Linked DNA regions of Homo sapiens: region 2 is linked to region 1. The links are contacts of gene promoters, found by promoter capture Hi-C in blood cells and fetal thymus (Javierre and others, 2016). All regions are on one chromosome and are shown on one strand. The core of a region is centred on a gene start or on the middle of the fragment in contact, and the rest is flanking DNA. Distances in the headings are between cores, read along the strand shown.

Region 1 (4,737 bases), core at 1,652-4,151:
CAAGAAGGGACTAAGGTATATGAGAAAAGATCCAAGCAGGCAAGCTGGCTCTTTCCCATTTGTGTGGCAGAAAGCGGGGACCCCACCGCCACCCATCATTTGAAATTCACTGAAAGCCTGTGGACATTTGCAGAAGCTGCCGAGCCAATGGTGCTGAAGCTGCTTAGGGCAAAGATTTTAAAATTTCAGAGTGTTGAACTGGGAAAGTGCTTACAACTCCTTGTAACTAACCCCTCCTTGGAAAACTAGCTGTTTTGAGGCAGAAATATTTTACAATGTATTGTTTTAACTGAAGGGCAATTTTTAGCCAAAGAACGTTTAGCAAATGAGCTTTGGTGGTGGGTTTAAAAATATTTCTTCTCTGAGCTGATGCTGACACAGCTTTTCTCCATGTTTGTGTTAAAAGAACACACAACAAAATGCATTTTCTCTTAGTTTAACAAGTTGGAATAAAATACACAATTTTTATAAAGATAAATGTCAAGAAGAAAAACTGAAGTATACTTCCAAGCAAAATTTATTAGATGTCTATTCAAGAAAAACACAATGACCTTTGCTTGTAAGAATTCAAAGTCAATTACCTGGAAGCCAGGTATGAATAGTTTTTTCTTTTAAAATCAGATACAGAGAGTAGAAACAGTAATTTTTCTTAAATATGACAGGCAACAGATATTGAAGTCTTTTCTCATAAATGGCATCAAAGAGAATTATTCATTTATCAGCAAAGCTGCATGCAGTTGACTTAATTTCAAACCTGAAGCCTTTAAAATATGAAGCTGGTTATGAACTTGACAGAAATCAAGGTAGGCTACTCAACGATGTTTCTTTACCTTCTTCCTAATGAAATTCCCTTGTCATCAGTCAGTAGATATGTACATTTCATTTGGCTTCTACGATCTTTTAACTTCATAGATTTTTGCATAAATGCTATCTGACAGAATCACACTATCTAGGGGTGCTTGTGATCTGTGAGATAAGGAGAGGCTAGTCTGCTGAAAGTGTTGTCGCAGGATAAAGACCAAATTAGGAAACGCCCCTGTTTTCTCAACAACTAGTCTGTACAAAAAAAGAGCAAACATATGTACAAAATTCTAGAGGCTACGTACATTGTGAAAAGATCAATATCACTGTCCATGAAAGAGATGCCATAAAAAGTTTTATCTGTAAGGTGCTCAAGATCCAAAGATGAACAGTTCTTATGCAAAGTCATAAGAAATACAAAGCTAGTTTTCGGAGCAGGTGTAATTCAGGCACTGTGAACCATATTAAACCTTCCAGGTCCCAATATCATTTTTTAAATTTCTGCTTCAGGGCAGAAAATAAAACCTGAATGATTTAACATTGCTTCTAAAAAGTGCCTAATTTATTCCTAGGAAATATTTTACACACACCAGGAAAATCAGGCTCAACATATTCCTGTCCTCAAATGTAGCCAGGATTCTGAGTTCCATAGAAGAAAAATAATTATTATAGTAAAAATAATTGTAGTAATCCTAATCCTTGCTAAAACCAACTTTAATACTTGTGATGCTTCTGTACTCTATTTCTATAAAATAATGTGTGAGATTCTATTACATTTCCATAAAATGTACAACATATCATATGGATTATATGTTCTCATACAATCTCAAATGTGTATGTGTACACACAGTGAAATCTTACCTACTAGTATTGCTTACAGATACTTTCAGGTGTCTGTTAGAATAATTCTTTGCACCTCTCACTAACACTGCTTTTACTTACATTTTTTCAGATAAATAAAACACTAAGAGCTCATTGTTCATGATGCTGATCATTACATTTTAATATAAAATAGCGATGCAACTTTACAACACAATAGTTTTCCCCTGTAGCCTAGCTCAGCCTCTTGTATTGTCATGATTATTACCGAAGGCTTTTATTTACTTACTGTTTGCACTTCTAAAAAATGCAAACAAATTGCAGAAAAAGACTCCTATTTGAAAACTCACATTCAATCAGCAAAATCACACTCATCCAAATTAACTCGCCTCCTCTTGCTTTAAAGGTTGTAATCACTGTGCATATTACAACATGTATGTGCAGGCAAACAATAGCTAAAGTACAGTTACAGTTGTCATATTGTGTAAACCAAGACACTAGGCAAACTTGTGAAAAGAATACACACTGCCAAGCGAAGAATATGAAAATGCAAACCACAGCATTCCCCAATAAACAATTTTCTGGTCGTCTTGGGGGAGAACATCGCCTGGGGGGAGATGTTGAAATGGAGCCACGAGGCTGGACAGCCTCCTGGAGACACTTTTTTTTTTTTTTTTTGCCTCAAATATTTGACCATTTTTAAATATCATGATTTTTTTCTTTCTGATCCCACATTTTGACGTGTCAAAGCTTAGAGCAGGAAGTAGGAATCCACACTTTCACGGAGGGGGACCAGCCTGCCATGTCGTCCCCAGGCTCACAGCAGCGGCGGCTACTCTGCTGGTGGTTTGGTGGCAGGTGGAGATGGTGACGGCGCATTGGAAACCGTAAGGCATGACAACGGGAGGCCCGCGGGGTGTTTCAGGCGCGTTGACGCAGGTGCATGGCTGGCAGGCGGCCTCTACAGAAGGAGGGAGCGCAATTCACAGCCTCTTGACGTAGTTTCCGGGGAAAGTACCAAAGAATTTGGTTCTTCTTGAGGTCCCTGAAAATAGAAGCGAGTCATGAAAGGGGGGTGACAACGATATCAGTTCATACACATGGGCTTGAATACTTCCCATTTACAAGGCCTCGGAAGACAGCAAGCCCCGAGGGGTTTGGAAAAGAAGGCAGGCAACTCACATGAAGCCCATAGGCAGACAAAATAAGCAGTGTTAGCTGGTTGCCTGACGCTCTCACTGCCCCTCCGGCATAAATGCTGCGCTGCCATCGCGGCAGGCTAAACAGAAATGCTGAGCCTCCCAAGCTAAAGGGAAAGTCAGCCCTGCTGAGGAGGGGGGCGGAGGAGCTCAGTCACTGAGGCTGCCACACCAGAGTCGGGGGTGAGGGATCAAGGCGAGGCTGACAGGTGACAGGGTGAGTGGAAAATCCTAAGAGCAAAGCTTCTCAGGGACCAGCAACCCGCGCAACACAGGTGCGACATGAAGACATCATCTGTGGCAGGCTGTCGCTGTTCCAACAGTTTTATCATCTTACAGAAGATCATGGTCAGTGCCACATCATTTATTTAAAAACAGCACTGCCAGAGTCCTTCATCGAGTATACAATTTTTCAACAATTTACAAATCATTAATGAAAAAAAGGATTAAGCACTATTTGTGTGTGGGAGTTCTATCAGTGGCATGATTTTTAACATGGTGTGTGTTTAACCACACGCACAAATGGCTATCATAATTATGTTCGCCTCTGGTTTCAAATAATGTAATTCCTTGGACACTTCTTGTAAAAGTTGGTGCACTAAATTGCTAAATTCTTCTTTAGGCAGCGCAGATGGACCGGATAAGGGTCTCTCAAGCTTCATCTGTCTCCTATATCCTGGCACTTACTGCCTTGGTTTGATGGCTGTTTTTCTTTTTCCTTGGCTAGGCAAGCCATTTTACGTTTCTCCTCCCTCCTCCTCCTCCCTCCTCCTCCTCCTCCTTGTTTTTGAGATGGAGTTTCGCTCTTGTCGCCCAGGCTGGAGTGCAGTGGCATGATCTCGGCTCACTGCAACCTCTGCCTCTTGGGTTCAAGCAATTCTCCTGCCTTAGCCTCCTGAGTGGCTGGGATTACAGGCACCTGCCACCAAGCCCAGCTGATTATTGTACTTTTGGTAGATACGGGGTTTCACCATGTTGACCAGGCTGGCCTCGAACTCCTGGCCTCAGGTAATCCACCCGCCTCGGCCTCCCAAAGTGCTAGAATTACAGGCATGAGCCACCGCACCCGGCCTTTTTTTCTTCTTTTAATGGAAATAAAATCAGAGGCTTGTGGCCGCACCAGGGCCTCAATTCTTTCATGATTTTGCCACCGATGGATGTCTAGAGTGAGCCCTCCTCTCCTCTCACCTTTCCTCTCTTCCATTCTCTGCCCTGCAGCCTGTGTTTCCTTTTCACCTCTTTCTGTGGCCCAGTGTAAAATACTTTTGTCTACAAATGTTTTCCCAGAAGACCTCTCGTCTTTTTTTTTAGGATGGTAAAGATGAAGTTGCCTTTTAAGTGGGAAGAATGGAACGTCTCTCTGCTTCCACCACAAACTAAAGTTAAGGTGAGTCACTGAATGTTCGGGCATCTACGTCAGACCTAGGAAACGGGAGAGCTGTTCACTTAATCTCACTCCCTCTGAAATTAGATTCTCACTGTGGACAACTAACATTTTCCACAGCACAGAGCGTTGATATTTCTCTTCTGGGGACCATTTGTTGTTGTTGTTCTTAGATCTCAATCTTTCCTGGTTTTTGCTATTTAAAGAAATTGTCTTCTCTCAGTTGAGTTGGAAATAAAGCTCGCAGAAAATCACACATAGCTGAAGCAGTGAATACTAAACTATATTAAAAATGCAATAGCCTTGGGATTACATTGTGCATATGAATGTCTGAAAGATCAAAGGCATTACGAATTCAAAGGAAGCTCGGCCATCACAGCAAACCACGGGAGTGAGCAAACTCAAGCAAATTACAAAATAGCCGAAGGTGCCTGAGGAAGAAGCGCACATACCCACAAACCAGCCGTCATCACACTTTTCCATGACATCAATGACATCACTTTCTCTGAGCTCCAGCTCATCTTCATTCCTGGG
Region 2 (4,737 bases), core at 1,175-3,674, 430 kb after region 1:
AGACAGAGGGGGACCCAGCTGGGCCTGTCTGGGTTCCTCTTGGCCTCCCTGTGTGGCGTTCCTTCTTCCTGCGTGTAGGGCAGGGCCCCTTCTGGAATGAGGGTCTTATAACCTACTTTCAGGAAAGTAAGTCAGAGAACTTCTTTATGGCCAGCTCTTACTCAGAAAGGCAGGGAAAGTTCCAGTAGTGATTCTAGTTTCTAATGGCTGGCTTTGGGGAAAGAGATTCTAGTTTCCGTGACCTGCTTTAGGGAAGAGGATTTCTGGTTTCTATGACTCACTTCTTGGGGGAATGAGGGGCGAGAGACAGGAGGGCAGGAGAAGGTCAGAGACTTGGTTCTGAGGCTGCTTCTGAGGCTTTCCAATGCCCTTTAGTTCAAAGTCCTCAGCAGGTCAAGGCCATACTTGGGGTGTCCTTTTCGGAGCCGTGACTTATGACTTAAAGCAAGATGAACTGTTTTGCTATTATGTAGCAGAATCAAGATGAACTGTTTTGCTATTATGTAGCAGAATCAAGATGAACTCTTTTGCTATTATGTAGCAGAAACAGAATTAAACCTAGCCTGCAGAATTCAGAGTCCCATGTGTTCTATTGTTATGCTATCCCAGTGTATGCCATTGAGTGGATAAAATGAAATGGCATCATTGTGCTTATCCCATAGGAAGCAACCCATACATGACAGATACTGCTATTATAACTCAGCACCATCCATTCAGTCATCGTGTGGTCTTCATCTTTTGAAGCCTCATTTTCTCATCTGTAGAACTTGCGTGAGTATTAAGAAGATGTCTGAGGATGCCAGGTGCTAGAGCTGCAGAGAGAACCTGCAGAGAGAAGGGGTGTTGGTTGTGTTGGTTATTAGGGTGTCTCAGGCCATCGTTCAGCACCCTGACCTCTTCCTTCAAGCTGAGCCCTGGGGAAGGGAGCAGAGGGGCATGAATAGGTCAGTTTTGGGGCCCGCCCTATGACCTCCACATCTCTCTTCTTCTTTCCTCTTCTCCAAATTTTAGAATGTGCATCCTTTCCAATCTTTTTTGTTGTTAATGTAGTTGTTTGTTCATATGCCAGTACCGCAGCTACAGAGGCCCTGAAATGCCAAGAATTAACTTCTTTTCTTCCCTATACTGTTTTAAAGCACAGGTTTTGTTATAATTTTGATAGGGCAAGACCAGTAGATAGGAGATGACTACCATTGAAAAAAAAGTCTGATGCTCACAGATGCCAAGAGGAGTGAGCGCCTACAGTGTGTGGCCACACGGGTAGCACCCGGGTCAGGCAGGAGGCAGAGTGAGCAGGGGGAGAATGCTGGGGAGAGGATTCCATGGGAAGGAGCAGGCAAGGCAGGGTGAGCAGGCTCAGGGTGGAGAGCTTGAATAATTTCAGCAGACTCTGGGCATAGGGCCTGTCCCTAACTGTCTGGTACCTGGTTTGGGGTGATCAGGGCAGGGGGAATCATGTTGAATTTGAGATCCCCAGTAGAGGACGTGGTTAGGGGCATGGGCTTTGGATTGGTTCATGTGCATTTGAAAGGCTCTCTCTGGAGGCGGGGGTCCTTCACTGTCTCTAGGAATCGGCTAACTAGAGACAGTAGTAAGCTAACTGACTGCCAGTCCCCCCAGGCTCAGCCAGACTCCAATGTCAAACCATAAATATACATAAAATAAAAAGACATGGTTAGACACATGCATTCTGCAGTGTCAAATAACACTTGGGCAATGGAAAATTCATATCTAGTCTCCCAGGTGGGAAAAAAAAAAAAAAAGGAAATATCAAGAACGGTTACTATTGCAAAGTGTTATCCCACTAAACACCCTCTATCTCTCTGTGTTTTGTAGCATGAAGCTTTGTTACCATGACGTCACATGCTATCCATGGGGTTTTGTTGCTGTTACAGAGGTCCCCGTGATATGCTGTCCTGCATTTCTAGACATGTCTTTGGTTTGGAAGCCTGACACCACCAAAAGAGAACTGCAGTGCAAATGGTTTTGAAATCCTCCACTAATCATCCTAGAAGCTCAGCTAGTTCCAGGGCCTTCCATAATTCCAATTCCAAAGGACTTCATATCAAAACATTCTTTGCTTGTTTTGCTACCCCCCAAGATTGCATTTATCCCTTCTCTGGAGATTTTAACAGTTGGTGAGCTACCCTAGGCTCTGGTGGCACCTTCTATAAGTGACCCTTGACCTTCCACTTTCCTGAACTGATGAAAACATAGCTGTGTTAGCTCAAATAAATATTTCCTAACTGCCTGCTTTGGGGAAAATGCTGTGTGAAATGCTTGATGGATTTATTTATTCAACACCTGTTTATGAAGTGTTGATTATGTGCTAGACACTTTTGCAGACATTGAGGATACAGTAGTGGACTAAATAGACAAAGCTCCCTCATGGAGCTTATTTTGTAGTGGGGTAGGCGGGTGCTGGCAATAAACAAGGTGAAAATATATGGCATGTCAGGTGGTGATAAAAGCCAGGGGGTAAAATGATGCCACGATGGGGGAGAGGAGGCCTGCCACTTTAAATAAGACAGTAAGAAAAGGTCTTTGTGAAGGTGACATTTTAGCAAAGATTTGAAGGATGTCTCTGAGAGAGGATTGTTGGAGATGGACACAAGAGGGATTGAGCAAGAAACACAAGCAGTGGCAGCTGAAACCTGGGTTTCTCAAAATGGAGTTTATGGAGAGTGTGTGTAACAACAATAAGATAAAAAAAGGAGAGATATAAGATCAGTGCCTTCACCTCAAGAACTTCATGGTCTCATTAGAGAGGTTTCCTAACAACAAACCATTAGAAATGAGACAGAGCAGGGATCCCTCTTAGGGGCCTGCAAGTCCCTCAAGCATGAAAGAAAAATCTTGAATTTCTTCAAGGGGAATTCCAGGCACCCAGCTATCCCTGAAGAGTAAATGAGCAACTTGACCAGCAAGAAGGTAATAGTAGCTTAAAACAATAACCAAGGGAGTTGAAGTCATGGGGTGTTTGGTAAAGTCATGGGGTATTTAGATAAAGCTTCACCTCCTTACCCAATTGCAAACCCCAACATCTTTGAATCCACCTGTGACCTGTGGAACCCTGCTTCATGACACCCTACTTTTTTAGGCCAAACCAATATAGAGCCTCAATATATTAATTGACTTCTTTGCCTGCAATCTCTGCTTCTCCAGATTTAAAATCTCCTACCTGTAAGCCACCGAGAGGTCAGGTCTCAATTGTAAGCTGCCCAATTCTCTTTCCTTGGCATCCTGCAAATAAACACCTTGCTTTCCCCTGCTGCAAACCACGGTGTGGATGTTTGGCCTCACCCCACAGGAGAGCAGACACCAGTTCAGTTCAGTAACAGAAATAGGTCATTAAAGATGGATTCTGTCTACAGTTCACCCAAGCAAGTGAAGTCTGTGTTAAAATACTCAATAGTATCTCTCTTAGCTCTTGCCAGAATGAACATGAAGTCAATGACAGGTTGGTAACTCATAAAATTAAGGCAGATTTCCACACTCATCGTCACCACTCTCACCTAACACTTGGTCAGCATCTACTGTAAACAGTTTACTCTACTGAGTGTAGGAAGAGGCACAGTCGTGAGTGTGAGCTTCCTGAGTGGGGACGTCCTGCGCTGTCACTTTTAAGGAAGGCTTCACGTAGGCCATGCTGGAACCCAGAGTGCCTGAGACAACCGCTAGGGAGGAGACTTCCTGAGGCCTGTGGCTGAAGGAGAATGAGCCAGGGCTTCTCACAGGCAGACATGGGTGTAAAGGGAAACGAGGGAAGGAGTTTGGCCTTCATGTGCTGGTCCTTACCCTGGGTCGATGGCGGTGGATGCAGGGCTAGGTGTGAAAGAGACAATCCTACTTTACTGAAGGTCTTGGGAGCTCAGCAGCGTGGACTTGCCGGGATTCAGCTCCCTGGGCCCTGCCCTCTTCTGCAATATGGACAGCAACCGGGTAAGGAGGCGTTGAGAGAAGAGACTCGTAGAAGGGCAGGTGTGCAGAACCGAACATGGAGGGCATCGGTGAGACGTCCCAAGGCTTCCAGGAATAGCTGCAAAGAGCACAGGGCTGCCTGGAGAGCCTGTGTCTGCAGCAGAAACCAGCACCTGCAGGACAGGCCATGGCTGTGAGGGGGATGTTGGAGGTGCTCAGCTTACTGAGCTCTGGAGCCAGCATCATATGTGAATATGTGTTAGCACGTCGTCCAGCACTGTGTGATTCGTAGTAAATCTTTACAGAATTGAAATCTATCTGGTGTCTCTAGAAATTGACTTGAAGCACAAGGTAGCAGAAAGTACTTGTCAGAAGAAGACAGATGCTCAGTTCGGAGGAGGGAGAAACAGGGAACCCAGAGGAGGGCGAAGGCGTCACCTGTGAGGCCAGGCGTGTGGCCGTGAGCAGCCCCGTTGTGTTGCAGAGGTTTCACAGATCAGTAGTTACTGTCTTCATCTGGACTATAGAGAGCACATATCACATAGGCCACAAAGCCTGTCATTCTCCACAGTAGAAAACTTTTACAGGCTGTTTTTATCTCTAGAAACACTGGATTGTTTGGCAGTAACAAGAAACATCTTTCCACCCACACACGCCCACGGAAGCATGTTGAACATCAGTGAAGTACGTTACACTGGGGATCGCACCGCGTATCTTCTTATATAGCAGTTTTTATATAGTAGTTCATTAGGGGAGCAGAGATTTTTTTTCTCTCTCTCCCCTCCCTTTGTAATTTTCAGAATAGCAAATAGCATG

What was found. Contacts are between HindIII fragments. The CHiCAGO score rates a contact against its expected background, and 5 or more counts as called.
Region 2: a fragment that was not itself captured here is called in contact with the fragment with the promoter of SORBS2-AS1 in region 1 in 4 of 17 cell types (M1 macrophages, M0 macrophages, endothelial precursors and 1 more); the score reaches 6.7 in M1 macrophages.

Annotation. Positions count from the first base shown.
Region 1 is chr4:185,585,024-185,589,760 of GRCh38, forward strand. SORBS2-AS1 (SORBS2 antisense RNA 1) reads left to right here and starts at 2,902. Exons shown (of 4, transcript NR_186082.1): 1 at 2,902-3,167; 2 at 4,131-4,206. SORBS2 (sorbin and SH3 domain containing 2) reads right to left here. Exons shown (of 27, transcript NM_001395207.1): 26 at 4,656-4,737; 27 at 500-2,665. The coding sequence ends at 2,604. RefSeq lists enhancers at 1,999-3,198, 2,477-2,556. The HindIII fragment of the contact is 692 bases long and covers 2,369-3,060 here.
Region 2 is chr4:186,016,617-186,021,353 of GRCh38, forward strand. All of the region lies in intron 1 of LOC124900830 (a long non-coding RNA gene), which reads right to left. LOC124900829 (a long non-coding RNA gene) reads left to right here and starts at 696. Exons shown (of 2, transcript XR_007058418.1): 1 at 696-771; 2 at 1,837-2,265. The HindIII fragment of the contact is 1,167 bases long and covers 1,842-3,008 here.